3 separate regions of the Homo sapiens genome follow, and regions 1 and 2 are each linked to region 3. Evidence: promoter capture Hi-C in human tissues and cell types (Jung and others, 2019). All regions are on one chromosome and are shown on one strand. The core of a region is centred on a gene start or on the middle of the fragment in contact, and the rest is flanking DNA. Distances in the headings are between cores, read along the strand shown.

Region 1 (4,272 bases), core at 1,388-3,887, 620 kb before region 3:
GGGCAACAGAGCAAGACTCCATCTCAAAAAAAAAAAAAAAAGAAAAATGGAAACATCTGTGAGACATCTGAGAAAACTTGAATATGGACTATGTATTTGATACCATTAGGGATCTACTGTTAATTTTCTTAGGTATGGCAATGTTATCATGGTTATGTAGTAGGATGTCCTTTATTTTAGATGCATAAGGAAATATTTAGAAGTGAAATGTCACAATGTCTGCAGCTTACTTCAAAAAGGTTTGACATAAAAGAAGACAGATTGAGAAGAAGAAAAAAGATAAACCACATACGGCAAAATGTTAAAAACTGTGGAATCTATCTGGTGGGTATAGCAAATATTCATTGTACTATTCTCTCACTTTTTTTTTTTTTTTTTGAAGTCTCATTCTGTTATCCAGGCTGGAGTGCGGTGGCACGATCTTGGCTCACTGCAACCTCTACCTCCTGCGTTCAAGTGATTTTCCTGCCTCAGCCTCCCTGTAGCTGGGATTACAGGCGTGTGCCACCATGCCCAGCTAATTTTTGCATTTTTAGTAGAGACAGGGTTTCACCATGTTGGCCAGGCTGTTCTCGAACTCCTGACCTCAGGTGATTTGCCCGCCTTGGCCTCCCAAAGTGCTGGGATTACAAGTGTGAGGTGCCACGCCTGGCCTCTCACATTTTATGTATGGTTTGAACATTTTCATAATAAAAATACGGGGGTGAGAGGAAAGAAAGTCTTAGAAGCAGCAAGGCTGAAACAGCAAGACGATCAAGATTAAAGTCAGAAAAACTTTTTCTGGGCAATGAAGATTGCCTGCCTCTCCCCACTTTTTCATGTTTAATAGAAGGCTGATCTTGCAATCATTCTCTGCACTAGAAATAGTTCATTGAGTTGGTCCTGTGGCCCACTTCCCAACCCATCAGACAGTAGGCTGCTTTACTGCCAAGGTTACCCAGAGCTCTTTGGTTTTCAAAGTTACAACCAGCAAGTGACAAAAGCATGAAAAGGTCAGGTGACCAAGAAAAAAACAGCTCCCCAACTACTGCTGTACAAAGCCAAGACAATACTGAAAAGTTTCCTTTCCACAACTATGTTATCCAAAGAAAGTGCAAGCATATAAAATGTAGAAAGACCTTCTTCCCAGAGATAAACACTGTCCTAATTAGTGTTTCTTATTTTATTATCAAATGGTGAAACTAAATTCAATTCTTCCTTTCCTTTGTGTATTTTCTGCTTCCCAAATTTAATTATTAACCAGAAGATAGTTTTTTATTCATCAATGAACCATGAAACGTGTCACTTAATTATTTACCTTTTAATTAAAAAAAAGAAAACCTAGTAAGTATTAAAAAACCCACAATGACCCACACTCCCAGCAGCCGGAATTAACCACTGTTAATATTTTGGCATATTTGCTTTTTTCTACATTACTGCTTTTTAAAATTATGTATGTTGAATATTTACTGTCTATTTTGAGGGAAAAAAAGGAATATTACATAAAAACCTAAAGTCATCATTGATCCTCACCCCCCAGAGGTCACCACTATGAGTTTGTTGTGTATCCAGCCAGTCTTTTTTCCTTCTTTTTTTTTTTTTTTTTTTGAGACAGAGTTTCACTCGTGTTGCCCAGGCTGGAGTGCAACAGCGCGATCTTGGCTCACTGCAACCTCTGCCTCCCGGGTTCAAGCGTTTCTCCTGCCTCAGGCTCCTGAGTAGCTAGGATTACAGGCATGCGCAACCACGCCTGGCTAATTTTGTATTTTTAGTAGAGACAGGTTTCTCCATGTTGGCCAGGCTGGTCTCAAACTCCTGACCTCAGGTGATCCACCTGTCTTGGCCTCCCAAAGTGCTGGGATTACAGGCGTGAGCCACCACGCCTGGCTGTCTTTTTTCCTTTTAATAAAAATATTCAAAGGGCGGGCACAGTGGCTCATGTCTGTAATCCCAACACTCTGGGAGGCCAGGCATTCAACACTAGCCTTAGCAACACAGCAAGACCTCATCTCTACAAAAACTAAAAATAAAAAAATTAGCCAGGCATGATGGTGTGCATCAGAAGTCCCAACTACTTAGGAGGTTGAGGTGGGGGGATCACTTGAGCCCAGGAGTTCCAGGCTGCATTGATTGCACCACTGCACTCAAGCCTGGGTGACAGAGTGAGACTCTTATCTACAAAAAGAAAAAGAAATAAATTTTTTCAAACATATACCATACCCAGCAATGACACTGCCCTCTAACCCCCAGGTCTACCTGAGCATGTGGTCACCAATGACTTTGTAAGTTCTACCTTTAGAAGACGCATAGACTCAGCAGACCCAATAATGCAGCTTACGTCAAAGATGCTGCTTTCATATTATAACTTATTTCTTATTTTCCTTGGATTCAGACTCAGAATTTAGACATGATAGATGACTGATAGATGACAAAGAAGAAGAAACCAAGAGCTAAATAGATGTAGTTTGCCCAAGATCACAAAGCTAAGTAAAGATTAACATCATCAGAACCTAAGTGAGCAGGTACCCTGACTCTGAACTTTTTCTTTCTGCTGAACCCCACTGTTTTCCTGACAATAAAGCCAGTCGTGGGTACAATATATGTGAATTCTAAACAATCATCTCTGTTCTTCCCATCTTATATGTAAATAGTTAACTCACTGCTCACTGCTTTTATAACAACTGTGCATGAACAGCCAGGTATGTTTTCTTGTTTGTTTATATTTCATTATCTTGCTTCCCTGGAAATGAAGAAAAAAATTGGAAATTTTATTTTTACCCAGTTTTTCTCCATGATTTATGCTTTCTTTATCTTGAAAATTAAACAATTAAAATACTAATATATTCTTCTTATATCCTGTACACTTTGTGTCTTGAATGTTTTACAAAGTGAATCCTCATATACCAATCTGATTCATCTCATCATAGAAAACTGACGTGAACAATTTGGTATGCAACTCTCAGTAATACATAGTTTTGGTGTTTTTCTGTTGGGGAAGTATTTGTTTTTACATAAGCAAAACAATAAAATATGTCACTGCTCTGCAACATGCTTTTTTTCACTTAACATTATACCTCAGAGATCTTTCCAGCTTAGTACATAGAACCAAATCTCATTTTTAAAACTGCTGGTCAGGTGCAGTGGCTCATACCTGATCACTAATGATGTTGAATACCTTTTATTTATTTATTTATTTATTTATTTTTGAGACAGTGTCTCGCTCTGTTGCCCAGGCTAGAGTAAAGTGGCACAGTCTTAGCTCACTGCAACCTCCGCCTCCTGGGTTCAAGTGATTCTCCTGCCTCTTGAGTTCAGGAGTTCGAGACCAGCCTGGGCAACATGGCAAAACCCTATCTCTACAAAAAATTAGTTAGGCGTGGTGGTTACAGGGGCATGCCTATGGTCCCAGCTACTCAGGAGGCTGAGGTGTGGAGACTGCTTGAGCCCAGGAGGTTGAGGCTGCAATGAGCCGAGATTGAGCCACTGCACTCCAGCCTGGGCAACAGAATGACATCTTGTGTCAAACAAAACAAAACAAAAATAAAAAATAAATCAAATAAAACTGTTGTACTGTATTATTTTGTTTTTATTTAACCAGCTGCTATGATGGAACATTCAGGATTTTTACTATTTATGTTTGCTATTGCAAACAATGCTACGGTGAGCAACCTTTTATGTCCATCTTTGGCACAAACACAAAAGTTTCTACAAGGAAGAGATCTAAAAGTAGCACTGCCAGGTTAAGAGGTGCCTGCATTTTAAATTTTGATAGGTGTTGCCAAATTGTTCTTTTAAACCGTTTACCTATAATATGCCAGAGTACCTGTTTCCCACAAGTTTCTAAATTATGTGTTACCACTCTTCAACTAATGCTAAATGAGTGGCTAGAATTCTGAGTTACAACTCACACTTCCCTAATTACAAGGGAAGTTGTCAAATGTTTATTGATTATCTACATTTCTTTTTCTATGAGTGCATACTCATATTCTTTACCTACTTTCTAGTCAGTCATTTGAGTTTTTTCAGAATAATTTACATATTTCATCATATTTTAAAAGTTGTATTGGGCCGGGTGCAGTGGCTCCCGCCTGTAAACCCAGAACTTTGGAAGGCTGAGGCAGGTGGATCATCTGAGACCAGACGTTCGAGACCAGCCTGGCCAACATGGTGAAACCCTGTCTCTACTAAAAATACAAAAATTTGCTGGGCATGGTGGTGTGTGCCTATAATCACAGCTACTCGGGAGGCTGAGGCAGGAGAATCACTTGAACCCAGGAGGCGGAGGTTGCGGTG
Region 2 (3,949 bases), core at 602-3,101, 580 kb after region 3:
TTGTGGACTAGAAGTCCCAGTCTTGACTTCCCCTTGATAAAGCAGTAAGGGCCCCCCATTTTTTATGACACAGGGCAGGCAGGAAGACAACCAGCTAGAAGAAAGCACTAGCTGAAGAGCATATTTTGACCAAAAGCAGTAAATTTCAAAGCTAGCTGGGTAGCAACTGCTCTGGGTTAAAAAGTTCACGTATCTGCCCTTCAAGGCAGATGACTATATATTTTCTAATGTTTCCTATGGGTTTGATGTGTGATATTTAGATTTCTCCATAGCAAGCAATTCTCCCATTCTTGGGTTAGATGCTGTTAGGGGAAGGGTCACTCTGGCAGAGGCAGGTCTGCACACCTGGGTTGTTGCTTTTGCACACACACACCCGCCCCATTTTACACTGCACACCGCAGAACTTCACCGTTTCACACATTCAGAAATGAAGGCCTCCGTGGTGTAAACAAGTTGCCCAAAGCAACACAGCTTCCAGGACGGAAACCTTTGGATTGTTGGTCCAGTCGATTTAACTGTATCTGAATGGTGTTTGATTGCTTGTGTGATCCTGGCTGGGAATATTCTCCTTTCTGGACTTCAGTTTCCCCATAAGACCATATACTCTTCTGTAGACATTCATTCTACAGTCCAGGAGAGTACCTGGAAGGGACATTAATTTCTCTCTCCCTTTTCCCCACGGCCTATGCATTATTGTTTCAAGCCCATCTCCCCCATGGCCCATCTACCCGCAGCCAGCTCTGACCTGAAGGCCGGGTCAAAGGGGTGCTAGGAATTCCAGGTCGGTGATTGGCCTTCTTCTCTTACTCTATGTAGACTCCAGCCTACAATTCCTAGTAGGGAAAGAATAACCATCTCTAATTTGCAAGAGCTCAGGGTCTCGGGTACAGACAGGAACTGGCCCCTGCCAGGGGCATTCCCAGGGCGTTGCTCCTGGGATGGGCAGAGGGACCAGTGGGCAGGCCAGTAATGCCAACATTCAGAGGGTCCTCCTGCGGGCGGGGGCTTCCTGGAGGAGGTGGCCCTCAAGAGGGGCTTGCTTTCGATAGTGGGGGTGTTGTATTCCGTGCGGAAGGACCCTCCCGTTGTGTGGAGGAACCGCACAGTCCCTTTAATGTGGTATGCTGGTACAGTCACTCCATCTTGACGCCTAGCCCCACCCCCAAACGTTTTCAAGCCAAAGCAAACAGAAGCAAGGCCCAGGTTTAAACTTAAGAGGCTGCCTTCAGATTTTGTTTACTTATCCAGATTTGCAATCTTTCAGGACCCACCAAGGCCAGTTTCTTTTTCAGACTTTGCACTAGGCTATGAGGGCAGGGGGTGGCGGGCAGGGCAACGTCCCATACCGTCTAAATCGCGCCCATACGCTGCCACCTGGGAAAGGGGGCAGAAAGGGGCGGCGGTGCTCTAAAGTGAGGCGGAGCTGGAGGGCTCTGAGGAAATGCCCCGGGGCACCCCCTCCCCAAGGCAGCCTGGAGTGGACGCGCGGCTGCCAGGCTTCCCGCGGAGGACGCGACCCCGGCGGTGCCCGAGGCTGGCGCGCCCTCTCGCGGCCACGCCGGGAACGCCGCCGGCTGAGACCCTCGCGTCCTCGGAGAAGCCTGTGGTTGGTTCCAGCCTAGGCCCGGCGGGCAGCAGCCCACGCTGGGTGTTTGAGGGCAGTGAGGAAAAGGACCTGTCTGCAGAGATCGTCTCTGCTGCAGTCCTTCTGCAGTCCACGCTGGGGAATGCCCTGGTCAGCGCGACAGAGTCCTCCGCTCTCCCCGGCATCCCCTGTCCAAGCATTTCTCCTCTGCCCCCAGCTGTCAGCTACCCCTCCCCTTGCCTCTTTTGCTCGACTCCTTGAATTAACTCAGCCTCGTAGGGGTGTTGATGACTGCTTATTCCTCCCTTTACCTCTAGCCCAGCAGGATATTTCACAACTTTCCTCCAAAGCAGCGGTCAAGATCTGAGTTAGCTCCACGGCTTGCTGACTCTCCTCATGCTCGGGTTCCTCATCTATGAAACGGGGATAACTGTAGTATCTGCGTCCTGATTTGGTGTAAGGTTAGTGAGTTACTACGTGTGTAGCAGACCCGTGCCTCCACACATTCCCTCGGTGCCCCTCCTTCTTCCTGTGCCCCTGTCCTCTGCGTGCCTTCTCTGTGGGGAGACAGCCAGCATCTTCTTGCTTCTCTGTTGCAGGGCTGTCCCAGGCTGCTGGAGCCTCCCTGGACCACATGCAGCAGCCTGGAAGTGCCAGGGATCAGGGGACGTATTTACCTATATTAGAGTTCCCCAGAGAAACAGAACTTATGGGATTACATATATACATGTATACATATGCGTGTGTGTATATATACGTATATGTATGTATGCATGTGTGTGTATACATATATATGTGTGTGTACATATATATATATGAGAGAGAGAAATCGATTTATTATAAGGGATTGCCTCATGATCATGAAGGCTGACAAGTCCCAAGATCTGCATTGGCAAGCCAGGAGATCCCATGGTTGGTTCCAGTCCTAAAGCTGCCAGGCTCAAGAGCCAATGTTTCAGTCCAAGTCCAAAGGCAAGAAGCAAGTTGATGTCCCAACTTGAAGGTAGTCGGGAAGGAGAAATTCCCTCTTAATTGGAGGACGTTCCACATTATTGTTCTATTCAGGCCTTGAGCGGATTGGACAAGGCCCACCCACATTGCAGAGGTCAATCAGCCTTACTGATTTAAATGTTAATCTCATCTAAAAACACCCTATCACAGAAACACTCAGAATGTTTGACTAAACATCCAGACAACCTGCGACCCAGCCAAGTTGGCACATAAAAGTAACCATCACAGCCCCCGAGGGCAGATCTTCATCATGACAGGTGGTTGGGGAAGCAGGAGCCACACTGCAGCTCCACTCTGCACTCTCGCCTGGCCTCCTTCCCTTCCCAGTCCCAATTCCTCACTCCCTGGGTTTTCCTGAGGCCTACCCCTTAGTAAATTACTTTCAAGTGAATCTTCCTTCAAGGGTAGGAATCTGCTCCTTGACATTCCTTATTCACCATCCTTCTGCCCGGGTTGGACGGATCCCCTCCTGGTGCTGGAACAGTCTGTTCCTTCCACAGGATGCTCAGAATGTAAACCATCATTGCAAAGACTGAGGCTTCACAAGGAAGATTCCTTCAAACTCATGGTAAAACATAAACTGAAAACATGAGAAATTGCATATTTTTCTGCCCATCTCCTGGGCACACAGAAGGACACAAAGAGCTTGGCTCCTCACATCACCTTCATGGGCACTTTATCAACGATAACATGAGAACAAGTCTGGCTGATAACAGGATTACGTGATTGTAATTAGATGGATAATTATTCACACGTGGAAGGGTTTGATGACTGGGTCTTGAGAATAGGAGCTATAAATACACATATTAGAAAAGGATTCCATTAAAAGTGAACCTAAAGCAATTGAAAAGCTTCTGATGGATCATTAGCCATTTAAAGAGATTTTTGTTGCTAATGTGTCACTCTTTTCACCTTTTACTAAAAAGCTTCAAAAAGGAAATCAAAGCATCTGACATTGTAATGTAAATCAATGGGGAGAAGGCATTAAATTTATAAAAGTTCAGTTTTTATGCAGCTTCTCCTAAACCCAGCTGTGATACAAATTGAAGTCTACTTTGTGTACATTGGCATAAAATGAGGTCCATTATAAACATATATTTTAGTAAATTCAATGTGATGTAGATGCAGGTTGAATACAGCAGCCAGTTACTTAAATTGAATGGGCTGAATTTCCCAGAAGAAAATCTGAAATGAACATGAAATGCTGTTACTCTGCTTCAACTAACCAGACACTCTTTAGACGAAAGTGTGCCAGGTGGAATATCATTTCATATAGTGTTTTCAGATATCCAACTGATCTTCCACATTTGCCCAGCCCTGCCCTGGTAAGCAATTACACAAAAATGAAACACC
Region 3 (4,340 bases), core at 1,006-3,505:
ACTGCTTAGTTTACATTTCATTTTCCACTGAAAACTACTAGGAATTAAAATACATGTGATTTTTAAAAATATTACAGAGAATCTTAAAGAAAACAGAACCCATACAATTATTCATATCATCCAATATAAGCGCCTCTTAATTTTTTAAAACCGCTATTTTGAATCCAAAGATCATAATAAAAATAGCTTTTTTTTCAGACGGAGTTTCGCTCTTGTTGCCCAGGCTGGAATGCAATGGCGCGATCTAGGCTCACTGCAACCTCCGCCTCCGGGAGTTCAAGCGATTCTCCTGCCTCAGCCTCCCGAGTAGCTGGAATTACAGGCGCTCGCCACCATGCCCGGCTAATTTTTTGTATTTTTTTAGTAGAGACAGGGTTTCACCATGTTGGCCAGGCTGGTCTCAAACTTCTGACCTCTGGTGATCCACCCACCTCGGCCCCCCAAAGTGCTGGGATTACAGGTGTGAGCCACCGCACCCGACCCATAATAAAAATACCTTGGAGGTGTGTTTCTTGTAAATGAGTGGCTAATTTCCCAACACCCTGTAAAAGTATATGGGTAAAAAGAAACTGAAAATCATCATGCAACCAGAGTTAACAACTATCTTGCAAAATTCATATCATTTGTTTTAAAACCAAAATAGCAAGGAAGAGCTGGTGTTATCCCAATAGCCTCTTTTTAATTGGTCTACAACAACTGCAACTCTTCATAACTTTACCAACACAACAAAGTCAGGCAGGCAGTCTGACAGAGTCAACGTTTGTGGGAACCTACAGCGCTTCCTTCTCTCTCTGGAGATGAGGACAATGAAAAAAGGTGTTCTGTTTTCCAGTAGTCCTGTAAGAGGAGCCATTGAGCTGGGCTGTACAACCAGACAACAGAACACAGGAAAATTCACATCAAAGCAAGGGCGCATGCCAGGGTAATATGCAATAAAACCCTCTGCCAAAGCATTAAGGGGAAAAAAAAGCAAGGAGGTAGAGAGAACCTGCTGGACTACCTTCTCATTAACACAGGGAGGCAGAAAGAAACAAAATCTGCCTGTATTCAGGAGCGGAGAAAACTGTGTCCTAGATATATTGGAGTATTCCTATAGACATGTTTATGAGCATTCGGACAAATTATCAATGAACTAAACCCAGAAAGCAGTGTCCTGTACGGTGGAGTATTCCTATGTAGACAGACATGAGAATCTTACCATTAACTAAGCCCAAAAAGGCAAAGTATTCTAGAAACACAGATATATGAGAATTTAGATGCACATTTCCAATGAATAAAACCCACTGGTTTTACAGTGAGAAAAAACTGTTTGAAATAACATCAGGTAAAGAATTGGGTAAAGGTGTGATGAAGTTATATCCCCTCCCCTTTTCCTCATACCCTTTTTGACAATCTCTGATTCTCTCATTTCATAGATGTCCCTTTCACTTGAATGCGCACACACACACACACACACACACACACACACACACACATCATTAGGTCTCCAGAAACAAAGGAGGGTCCTTAATTCTCCGGCCTGTGGAACCACACACGCCCCCTGCCCACAGATGGTGACTTTCATTAATGAGTAAGCCGAGGGAAGAGGTCTCCACCCCGACCACTGCCATGCACACTGTGACAACGGGGCACGAGACAAGCGCCACAAAGAAAGGGGAGGAGTGGACGGGGACCAGGAAAACACTGCCACGCCGCACCCCCCAAGGCGCGCGCCCACCGCCAACGCGGGGGCAGCGTCCTCGCCATCCTCCTCCTAGCCTCCCAGCTCATCCCAGCCGCCTCCCACGCCCGGGGACCCGATGCCAGGGCTTGGGCGAGCAGGACGTGCGGGGGCCCACGCACCTTCCCTCCGTGATCTCCAGGTGACAGCCCCGCTCCGCCCTTTGTGAGGGACTCACCCTCCAGTCCCGGGGCCGCGCCGGACCCTCCTCCGCGTCCCTCCTCAGCCTGGAGACACCGCCTCACCCCTGCACACCGCGCCCGGCCGGCCGAGGCGCCGGGAGAGTGTGTGTGTGTGGGAGGCTGGCGCGGGCCCGCGGTCTCCTCAGCATCCCGAACCCGGAGCGGCTCGGTCCCCCAAACCCCAGCCCGGGGGCGGCGGCCGCGGCGCTCCCGCCCTCGCTCGCTCACTTACTCGGGCGCGCCGGTGGCAGCGGCAGACGTGCGGGACCGTCAGCGCCCTGCGGCGGGCGGCAGGCTGCGGGCGGCGAGCGTCCGTCCGGACAGAGCGCGGCGGAGGTGGCGGCGGCTGACTGCGCCCGGCGGCCCCTCGCGAGGGGCGGGCCCGCCGGGGGAGGGGCGGGCGCCGCGCCTCTCATTCATGCAGCGGGGGCGGGGTGAGGGACCCGGATGCCCGGGCAGTTTCCCCACCCACCTCGGCGGAGGGCTCGGCGGCTTCAGAGTCTGCAGTGCGCAGGCGCGGCGCTCCCTGGCCAGGCCTGGTGCGGCCCTGGCCGCTGGCTCTGTTCCTGGTTAGAACTACGCCAGACAGGCCGGGCGAGGTGGCTCACGCCTGTAATCCCAGCACTTTGGGAGGCTGAGGCGGGCAGATCACGAGGTCAGGAGATCGAGACCATCTTGGCTAACGCGATGAAACCCCGTCTCTACTAAAAATACAAAAAATTAAATTAGCCGGGTGTGGTGGCGGGCGCCTGTAGTCCCAGCTACTTGGGAGGCTGAGGCAGGAGAATCGCCTGAACCTGGGAGGCGGAGCTTGCAGTGAGCCGAGATCGTGCCACTGCACACCAGCCTGGGCGACAGAGCGAGACTCTGTCTCAAAAAAAAAAAAAAAAAACAACTACTCCAGACAGACCTTCTCCATCGACCGTTTAGTATTTTTGCGTGCCCTACAAGCATTTTTAAAAGTGAAAGCATGGGGCCGGGCGCAGTGGCTCACGCCTGTAATCCCAACACTTTGGGAGGCCAAGGCGGGTGGATCACCTGAGGTCAGGAGTTCCAGACCAGCCTGACCAACATAGAGAAACTCTGTCTCTACTAAAAATACAAAATTAGCTGGGTGTGGTGGCTCATGCCTGTAATCCCAGCTACTCGGGAGGCTAAGGCAGGAAAATCTCTTGAACCCGGGGAGCGGAGGTTGCAGTGAGCCAAGATCGCACCATTGCACTCCAGCCTGGGTGACAGAGCAAGACTCCGTCTCACACACAAAAAAATGAAAGATTGGAATGCCACCCCTTTCCTAGCATGCAGATTGACAGTCCCCAGAGACACAAGAATGGTCACGTGGTGCCCATTGGTTTGATGGGGAGATGGTATGCACCGCACCCTCCTCCATCTGCCCCTCCTGCTGCAGCCTCTCAGCTGAGTGCTAGAACCTTGGTGATGGATGAGACCTAGACTCTGCCCAGATAGTGGAGAGAGGTGTGTGCAAGAAACAGTGCATTCCTTTATTTACATCCACTCCTCAACCTCCGGCTCCCATTCTACAGGGCAGGCAATAAATTGACCTCCGATTTTGGGAGGCTGAGCTCTTCCTGCAATACCAAGGCAAGGATCTGGGGAGTCCTCTCTTGTCTTTAGCAGGCAGTGTATTCTGCAGATACTCTCTTGTTCCCATCGCCTTGTGTCTGCCACTCCTGGGGTACGGAAGTTTCTGGAGAGGCTAGGAGCCTGCAGAGGGAATGGCTGTGAAGCTCCACAGCTGACTGTGTGTGCGCTGCAGCTCAGAGCTTGCAAAAATGATTGCCCCCTCTTCCTCAGTCTCCATGTGTCCCCCAGAAGTTCTCCTTCCTTCTCCTAATCTCTCAGGCCCCATCACATAAACCATAAACAGCTCAGTAGCTTAACTTTGGGAAGCAAAAGTCATCATGGCAAGCGCCTAGAGGCATGTTCCTTCTGCTTTGGCAAACCATTAACCACCAAGGCAGGGAGGAAGTAAAGAGGGAAACATTAGTGAATTTCTCAAGAAGTCACCTGCCACCCAATGGTCACAGTCCCCCAAAGTGAGAGAAGGGTGGAGGCATGTGCTAGGGAGACTGTGGCAAAAGGAAGGGAGTGGGAGACCCAGGCTTCCTCTAGAGCTGCCTGTGCCAGGGCTGTGCTGGGGGAACACTGCCCTCCTTGCTGTCAATCATAGCAGTTACCTGGAGGGTCTTTTCAACTTTGCTTTGCTCAAACCTCTCACTGTTCTAAATCAGCCCCCTCATCTCTCCCCTGGGCTGTTGCAGAAGTCTCAATCCATTCTCATGCAAATCGATTCTCATGGTATTCAAATCTGCCTGTGTTTCTGTCTTTTTCTTTTTCCCTGCCCCATCTGGCTCCTTGAGCCTTATTTTCCAGCCATTTACAGAACAGCACCATGGTGTTTCACCTCAGTAGTCACC

Evidence for each region. Contacts are between HindIII fragments. The study calls those that stand out against the background at their distance.
Region 1: a contact is called between a fragment that was not itself captured here and the fragment with the promoter of RNF24 in region 3, in 1 of the 25 tissues and cell types used here (hippocampus).
Region 2: a contact is called between a fragment that was not itself captured here and the fragment with the promoter of RNF24 in region 3, in 1 of the 25 tissues and cell types used here (lymphoblastoid cells).

What each region holds. Positions count from the first base shown.
Region 1 is chr20:3,390,011-3,394,282 of GRCh38, forward strand. All of the region lies in intron 1 of DNAAF9 (dynein axonemal assembly factor 9), which reads right to left. Among named protein-coding and RNA genes, the nearest start is that of DNAAF9, 16 kb to the right of the region's middle. The HindIII fragment of the contact is 8,801 bases long and covers 1-4,272 here.
Region 2 is chr20:4,591,207-4,595,155 of GRCh38, forward strand. It overlaps the pseudogene RPL7AP12. Among named protein-coding and RNA genes, the nearest start is that of PRNP, 93 kb to the right of the region's middle. RefSeq lists a silencer at 1,507-1,656. The HindIII fragment of the contact is 3,266 bases long and covers 219-3,484 here.
Region 3 is chr20:4,013,303-4,017,642 of GRCh38, forward strand. RNF24 (ring finger protein 24) reads right to left here and starts at 2,256. Exons shown (of 6, transcript NM_001134337.3): 1 at 2,135-2,256. RefSeq lists a silencer at 1,763-2,362 and enhancers at 2,246-3,178, 3,382-3,983. The HindIII fragment of the contact is 8,027 bases long and covers 1-4,340 here.